Linked DNA regions of Homo sapiens: region 2 is linked to region 1. Evidence: promoter capture Hi-C in human tissues and cell types (Jung and others, 2019). All regions are on one chromosome and are shown on one strand. The core of a region is centred on a gene start or on the middle of the fragment in contact, and the rest is flanking DNA. Distances in the headings are between cores, read along the strand shown.

Evidence for each region. The method cuts DNA at HindIII sites, captures the fragments that hold promoters and counts their contacts. A contact is called where the count stands out against the background at its distance.
Region 2: a contact is called between a fragment that was not itself captured here and the fragment with the promoter of FAM181B in region 1, in 2 of the 25 tissues and cell types used here (aorta and pancreas).

What each region holds. Positions count from the first base shown.
Region 1 is chr11:82,732,588-82,736,970 of GRCh38, forward strand. FAM181B (family with sequence similarity 181 member B) reads right to left here and starts at 1,277. Exons shown (of 1, transcript NM_175885.4): 1 at 1-1,277. The coding sequence starts at 1,142. The HindIII fragment of the contact is 21,418 bases long and covers 1-4,383 here.
Region 2 is chr11:82,803,071-82,807,453 of GRCh38, forward strand. All of the region lies in intron 2 of LINC02734 (long intergenic non-protein coding RNA 2734), which reads left to right. It also overlaps the pseudogene RBMXP3. Among named protein-coding and RNA genes, the nearest start is that of LINC02734, 24 kb to the left of the region's middle. The HindIII fragment of the contact is 4,934 bases long and covers 1-4,294 here.

The sequences.
Region 1 (4,383 bases), core at 27-2,526:
GCGCAGTCTGGAAAGAAGGGGGCGAAAGAGGCCAAATGGCCCCGCCCGTCCTCCCCGCCGGGAGAATCCGCAGCGGCGGGGTACAGGGGGCTCAAGGGCTCGTTCAAGGTCAAGCCGCCGCGGGGGGCAGTCAGGGGGCTCTTTTTGGTCGGGGAGCAGCCCGGGACGCTCCAGGGCTCGGGGTACAGTAGGTTTCCCACCACTGCCGGCGGCGGCTCAAAGAGGCCGGGCTCCAGCTCCGGGGGTCCCCGCAGTACGGAGGCTCCGGCGGGGAACACGTCGAGAGGCTCGGCGGCAAGCAAGACTGCCGCCTCCGTGCCGGCGCCGTAGTCGGGCCCCAGCAGCTCAAAGAACTCCACGGCCTCCGCGCCCTTCTCCAGGTCGCCCAAGCTCACGTCCGGCCCCGACGGGCCACACCCGCCGCCGCCTGCCCGGGACGGCTCCGTGAAGAAGGACGGAGGCAGATTGCGTGCCCGCAGCGGGACCTTCCTGGCCCCTGGGATCGCCGTGGCCCCCGCGGGGCCTGCCACGTCCCCTCCCGCGCCCCCAGTGCCCGCACCTCCTAGCCCGGCCGCCGGCGCAGCCACCTCACCCCCCGCCGGCTCGGCACCCCCGGGGACGTGGCGCAGCGAGTCGAAGAGCGCGGCCAGACTTCGGCTTTGCAAGCTGGCGGCCGCGGCGGCCTGCGACGCCTCCCGCCGGGGGGCAGCCTTGCCGTGGGCCGGGGCCGCGACTGTCGGGGCGCTAGGGGCGGCCAGCGGCCGTTTGGCTGGCGTGTCGGCGGCGCTCGGGGAGGGCGGGCCGGGGGGCGCGGCGCCCATGAGGCCGCTGCAGCGCTTGATCTGCTTCTGCAGGTACTTGCGGTGGTTCACCTTCCGCTTCGACTTGCCCGGCTTGTCCAGCGCCAGCTTGATGTTGCTGGACGCCGAGTCAATGAAGCTGAGTAGATCGCGGGTGGCCTCGCGCACGTCCCCTCCTTCGGCTCCCGACAGCAGCGCACCCGCCGGAGCCCCGGTCTCATCGTCCTCGAAACAGCAGCCCTTGTCCAGGGCTCCGAAGGCGCCCCCTAGCCCGTCCGGGGAGCCCCCGAAGCCGAAGGGCACGAAAGGGTGCGTGCTGAGGAGCGCCGCCTGCACCGCCATCGCCGCGGCTCCCGGGCTGTCCGCAGCGCTGCCCGTGCGCCCCCGCCAGCTCCTGCCCGCCGCCCAGACCCAGCTCCCGCCCCGGCGCGGCGCGCGCGGCGCAGCCTACTAGTTCCGGGCCTGGCTCGCTGCGCTGCCTCCCGGGGGAGCTCATTAGGTCTTGTAAGCAAGGGGCGGAGGGAGGGAGCGCGCGGCGACCGTCCCGGTGGTAGAGGGGAGGGGCTTACTTAGCCTGGCTTGGAGGAGTGGGGGGTCGCTTTAGTTTTCTGAGCTTTCTGAAGCTCAACGCCTTAACTCCTTCGTTTCCCTTTGCCCCGTGGTGTTTCTCTTGACTCCTCTAACCGCAAGGGGTGAGGAAGAGATGGCTGGTCTCAAACTCCAGTTCAGGCCCATGAGGCCGCTGCAGCGCTTGATAGGCTTCTGCAGGTACTTGCGGTGGTGCCTCTCCTGAGGCAAGAAGGCAGGAGTCTAGAGACGTGGGTTTCAGTCCAGCTGTATAACAACACCCACCAGCTTCTGGGCGCTTGCTTCTGCCAGGCGCTGTCCATCTATTATCTCATTTAATCCTTGAACAACAGCCCTGTGAATTACATGTTATCGCCATTCAACAAACGTGGACACTGCACCTCAGGGAGGTTCAGTGAGTTGGCCAAAGTCAGATCTAGCCCATTCTGACTCCAAAGCCATTCCTAAGCCCTTGACAATACTTGCGTCCTCTCTTGCCCTTGCCTTTCTCATCTATTAAGATGGGGAAGGAAAATGAGTATTTCTTAAAGCTCTAGACCTGATCCTAAGATTCTAACCTGAGTTTTCCCAGGATTCTCAAGCCCAGTGCTCTTTCTTCTTGACTGTTTGCCACTTGATTGTTACGAGTAACAATTGGCTAACAGTAAATTGAGGCCAGCAGTGGCCCATCTTTTATTAACACATAGCAGGAGGCAATGGAGAAAGGAGTCGATCTGGCTAAGCCCCCTGTTACTTGAGAACACTGTGTGTGTATAAAACTCTCAGCATGTTAGAATAAAAGATGGATTGGAACCTCTCCCCTACCTGTCATACCATTTAGGTTATCCCTGGAATTTTCATTGCATTTCAGGGATCATCATGAAGTTCACTTAAAACTAATTTCACCTGGGCAATCCTCTTTGGGATAGATAGAGAAAATGAGCAATAAGGTCATTTTCACAAGAGATTCAGAAGAGGCTTGGGTTCTGGTCTTAGCCACCACTCAATAACCTCATGACTTAGGTTGAAATCCTTGCTCTGCTGAGTGCATGGCTTTAGACAAACCAGCGTACTCTCTCTGTTTAGCTTACTCATGTTAAATGCAGGTAAAGTTGCCCTCCCCACAGGGCACTTGTGATATTTAAATGATACATTGTTCCATAGCCTGGATGAGTATTCACCCTTACTTCTCTGAAACACAAAAAGGTGACTATATCCCTTACGTGTCTTCTGGATCATAGGGTGTTCATGAGCATTAAGTGAGATCATAGATGCTTCTCAATTTGTGATAGAGCAACAACATCCTGATAAACACATTGTAAGTTGAAAATATTGTAGGTTAAAATGCATGTAATACACTGATTCAAGTTGGAAAATCATAAAGTTGAACCATCATAAGTTGGGGACTGTCTCTATATGAAAACACTGTGTGTGTGATAAAGTGTTCTCTAAATAAGTTACTCTAGTTTCGATACAGAGCTTGCATAGGAGAGACATAGACCATCTCTTTCAAAACTCTTTTTATTAAGCCTCACTTTGTAGATGTAGCGAAACCATTTTTGAACACCATGAAGGCACAGCCTTACCAAAGAAAAAAGGCCAGATGGGCCATCAGAGAAATACAAATCAAAACCGCAATGAGATACCATCTCACACCAGTTAGAATGACGATCATTAAAAAGTCAGGAAACAACAGGTGCTGGAGAGCATGTGGAGAAATAGGAACACTTTTATACTGTTGGTGGGACTGTAAACTAGTTCAACCATTGTGGAAGACAGTGTGGCGATTCCTCAAGGATCTAGAACTAGAAATACCATTTGAACCAGCCATCCCATTACTGGGTATATACCCAAAGTATTATAAATCTTGCTGCTATAAAGACACGTGCACACGTATGTTTATTGTGGCACATAGCAAAGACTATTATTCACATAGCAAAGACTTGGGACCAACCCAAATGTCTATCAGTGATACACTGGATTAAGAAAATGTGGCACATATACACCATAGAATACTATGCAGCCATAAAAAAGGATGACTTCATGTCTTTTGTAGGGACATGGATGAAGCTGGAAACCATCATTCTGAGCAAACTATCGCAAGGACAGAAAACCAAACACTGCACAGGTGGGAAATGAACAATGAGAACACTTGGACACAGGGTGGGGAACATCACACACCGGGGCCTGTCGTGGGGTGGGGGGATGGGGGAGGGATAGCGTCAGGAGATATACCTAATGTAAATGACAAGTTAATGGGTGCAGCACACCAACATGGCACATGTATACATACGTAACAAACCTGCACATTGTGCACATGTACCCTAGAACTTAAAGTATAATAAAAAAGAAAGAAAGAAAAAAGGCCAGATGAACATTTTTCATTTAGAAGATGAAGTAGCCACTTCCCAAACCCACATAGCTGAGCCAAACTTTTTATTTTAAATTCAAATTGGCTCAATTATCATGGACTTTTCATTTGAGTTACACACAGCATTTTGTCCTCCATGGCCGAACTGTCTGTTTTACTCTTGGTGGTATTCACATTCAGAAAATTGTGCAGACCTGTCACTGATTTGTGCTTCTTCCACTCCAGATGTGGATGTCAGCACTGCCCATCCCCTTTCCAACAGGGCCATTCCATAGGCTTCCAGGTCTGGCAGCCAAAAGCACTAACTTTTTTTTTTTTTCACCTTCTGTCAACTGAGCACTCTTACAAGTCCTTGGACACCAATTGCACAGTACTCTACATTTAATCGACATCTTATTCCGAAAAAACTCTTAATCCCCAGGGTTATCTAAATCCTAAAATCATATTCAAAATAAATGGAATATGAAAAGCTTCATATGTAAAAGTCTTTCTTCATTTCTATTGGAGTTCTGCACATCAAAGTTGATTTGAAGTTAGATGAGGCCAGGTTCAAATTCTGGCCCTGCCTATTGCTATTGAACTGCTTGGACAAGTCAGTTCATATTCCAAAGGCTCAAACTCCTTATCTGAAAAAAGGGAATGGTC
Region 2 (4,383 bases), core at 578-3,077, 71 kb after region 1:
CTGTGGAATGCACAGTGGTCTGAGCTCCCTGCTCAGTTCCAGGAGAGACCAAGCTTGGCCTGCCAAATTGGGCAGGCCCACCTCTTCATCCCCCAGTGGCAGGTGTAAGCACTGGCTCCAAAGTAAAGTCCAGAAGGCAGCCACCAAGCACCTAGAGTTGTGCCTGAGTATGGAGTGGAGAAACTTCTGCTTCCCCAAGTTTTCCACCCAGGAAAGGAGGGGTGGCCTAAACACCTAAACAGTGGGTGTGCTGAATGCCTGGAGATAAATCCAGGCATGGAGTAGAGGGGGTGTCACTGCACCAAGATCTCTGTACCTGAAGGAAGAGGTAGCTCAGGTTCCTAATCCAGGTAAGTGAGTATACCAAATTATGCCCCAGTGTGGAGCAGAAAGGGCCCCACTGCACCAAGGGACCTCTGAACAGAAAGGAATATTTGACCCACTTGACCCAGGAGGCCAACAGGGGAAGAATGGAGCTACTCAGAATGAGAGGATTTCTCCCTTTGTATTCTGTAAGAAAGGAAGAAGAGAAATTGGAAACATTAATTTAGAGGAGATCAAACTTGTTGCCATTTCTCCTAGCCAGTGAATTCACAGGTCCTGAGCCATTTGGATGTGTCTTTGAGCCCCTTGGGGAGTGTTGATTTAATCATCAGTTCGCAGCAATTTCAGAAGAGAGGGAACATTTTAAATCACACCAAAGAGATTCAAACAGCAAAATGTGGAGTATGGGAAACTATAGGGGAAAAAATGTCAACATTTCTTCAACAAATAACTTGTAAAGGGTAGAAGTATATTTATTAAATTATACTTGCAAGACTTTGCAACCAAATCAATAAAAAGAAATCACTTGGATCGTAGTTTAGTTTTAAAAATAAACTAATTTTTAGCCAGGCGCGGTGGCTCATGTCTGTAATCCCAACACTTTGGGAGGCCAAGGTGGGTGGATCACCTGAGGTCAGGAGTTCGAGACCAGCCTGACCAACATAGTGAAACCCCATCTCTACTAAAAAATACAATAAAATTAGCTGGGTACGGTGGCACATGCCTGTAATCCCAGCTACTTGGGAGGCTGAGGCAGGAGAATTGCTTGAATCAGGAGGCAGAGGTTGCAGTGAGCCGAGATCACACCATTGCACTACAGCCTGGGCAACAAGAGTGAAACTCCATCTCAAAAAAATAACATAAAAAAAATAATTTTTTAAATTTATGAGACAACTGGGAAAATGTGGAAAATCATTCTATATTTGATGATATTGAGGAATTATGGTTACTTGCTTAGATATAATAGGAGTGTTGTGGTTGCATTGTTTTTTAAACACTCCTTATCTCTTAGAGATATATACTGAAATAGTAATAATGAAAAGTATGATATCAGAAATTTTCTTACTAATAATTCAGTTTGAATTAAGGAAAGTGGGTGAGGAGAATATATCTAACAATATTGGCCATGATAATTATCAAAGCAGAGTGATGGGTACTTGGGGGCTCATCATACTATTATATTTTTACATATGTTTGAAACTTATAAAAATTAACCTTAACCCCTACCTCACAGCACATAAATGAGTAATTAAATCTGTGTCACAGACCTAAATGTGAAAGCTAAAACTATAAAGATCCTAGAAGAAAACGTAGAGAGTATTTTCATGACCTTGGAGTGGGCAAAAGTGTTTTAGTTAAGACACAAAAGTCACTTTCTTTCTCACACAAAAAATAATAAATCCAACTTCATAAAAACTAAAAACACACGCTTTTCAAAAAAAAAATAAATAAAACCAAAATGAGATGCCATTACACACCCACCAGAATGGCCAAATTTTAAAAAAAGATTGGCCACAAAAAGTAATCAAGGAGATAGAGTAATTTGAACCTTCATGCATTGTGAGTGGAACTCTACAATTTTAAGCCAATTTTAGAAATTGGTCTAACAATTATCATAAACATAAACATATATCTACCAAGCAATTCCACTCTTAGGTATATGCCTAAAATAAACATGTACAAATATTCACAAAAAGTTTTGTAATGTAATACTCATAAGAGCTTTATTTATAATAGCCGAAACTTTAAATAACCCAGATGTCTAGCTACAGAAGAATAGACAAAGAAGAAATTGTTTTTGTTGTGCAGTAGTGCTAGCGACTTCAAGGTTCGGTCCTTGGACCGGGCAGCCACCACTGGTGCTGAGCTGCTAGGAAGCCCCTGTCTGCAAGCTTGTTGAAGCTCGAACCCATTGTTACTCCTCTGACTCACCGGCAAACAAAAACAAACAAACAAAAAATGGTTGAAGTAGATCGCCCAGGAAAGCTCTTCATTTGTGGGCTTAATACGGAAACAAGTGAGAAAAGTCTTGAAGTAGTATTTGGCAAATATGGACGAATAGTGGAAGTACTCTTGATGAAACGAACAGATAAAGAGGATTTGCTTTTGTCACCTTTGATAGCCCAGGAGACGATAAGGATGCAGCCAGAGACGTGTATGGAAAGTCACTAGATGGAAAAGCCATTAAGGTGGAACAAACCACCAAACCATCATTTGAAAGTAGTAGACGTGGACCCCTCCACCTCCAAGAAGTAGAGGCCCTCCAAGAGGTCTTAGAGGTGGAAGAGGAGGAAGTGGAGGAACCAGGAGACCTCCCTCACGGGGAGGACACATGTATGATGGTGGATAGTCCATGAATTTTAACATGAGTTCTTCCAGGGGATTACTCCCAGTAAAAAGAGGACCCCCATTAAGAAGTGCGGGTCCTCCTCCTAAGAGATCTGCACTTTCAGGACCAGTTTGCAGCAGCAGTGGAATGGGAGGAAGAGCTCCTGTATCACGTGGAAGAGATAGTTACGGAGGTCCACCTCGAAGGGAACCGCTGCCCTCTCACAGAGATATTTATTTGTCCCCAAGAGATGATGTGTATTCTACTAAAGACAGCTATTCCAGCAAAGATTACCCAAGTTCTCGTGATACAAGAGATTATACACCACCACCACAAGATTATACTTACCGTGACTATGGTCATTCCAGTTCACGTGATGACTATCCATCAAGAGGCTATGGCGATAGAGAGGGATATGGTCGTGATCTTGACTATTCAGATCATCCAAATGGAGGTTCCTACAGAGATTCATATGAGAGTTATGGTAACTCAAGTAGTGCTGGACATACACGAGGGCCCCTGCCAGCTTACGGCGGAAGCAGTCGCTATGATGATTACAGCAGCTCACGTGATGGATATGGTGGAAGTCAGACAGTTACTCAGCAGCTGAAGTGATCTCTACTCAAGTGGTCGTGATCGGGTTGGCAGATAAGAAAGAGGGCTTCCTCCTTCTATGGAAAGGGGGCACCCTCCTCCACGTGATTCCTACAGCAGTTCAAGCCACAGAGCACCAAGGTGGTGGCCATGGAGGAAGCCAGTCTGATAGAGGGGGAGGCAGAAGCAGATACTAGAAACAAGCAAAACTTTGGAACAAAATCCCAGTTCAAAGAAACAAACAAAAAGTGGAAACTATTCTGTCATAACTACCCAAGGACTACTAAAAGGAAAAATTGTGTTACCTTTTTTAAATTCCCTGTTAAGTTTCCTTCCATAATTTTTATGTTCTTGTGAGGAAAAAAGTAAAACATTGTTTAATTTTATTTGACTTTATGACGTTGCTTTTCAACAAGCAAATGTTAAATGTGTTAAGACTTGTTGTACTAGTGTTGTAACTTTCCAAGTAAAAGTGTCCCTAAAGGCCACTTCTTATCGGATTTTTCCCAGTAAACGAGGCAAGCAATTCTTAAGATCTCCACAAGACATCTAGCCATCTAAAATATGGAGAGATGAATCGTTCTGCCCATACAAACAAGCTAGCTATTAGAGGGTGGTTGGGGTATGCTACTTATAATATATGATATATATTTCCAACTGAAATCTCAATGTTCTCAATATAAAAAACCTGAAATCAGGTGCCTATTACGGAAAGTGCTGTTCACCCAGTAAACCCAAAAAAGCAAATGGATAATGCTGGCCGTTTTACCTTTCTGACGTTTCCTTGGGTATCTGCAAGAACCTCCCCTTTTGCCTCCCCCAAATAAGATCTTTTAAGTGTGTGTTAAACAACTACGGAATACTAAAAAAAAGTTTGGCAAACCAAAAAGGAAGAAGAAGAAGAGAAGAAGAGGAAGAGGAAGCAGAAGCAGAAGAAGGAGAAGAAGAAGGAGGAGGAGGAGGAGAAGGAGGAGAAGGAGAAGGAGGAGGAGAAGGAGGAGAAGGAGGAGGAAATTGTTTTGTGTTTATACAATGAATTATACCTACTCAATAATATGAACTACTAACAAGTGAAAACAAGAATGGATCTCAAAACTGTTTTGTTGAGCAAAATAAACTAGAAACAAAAGTGCATT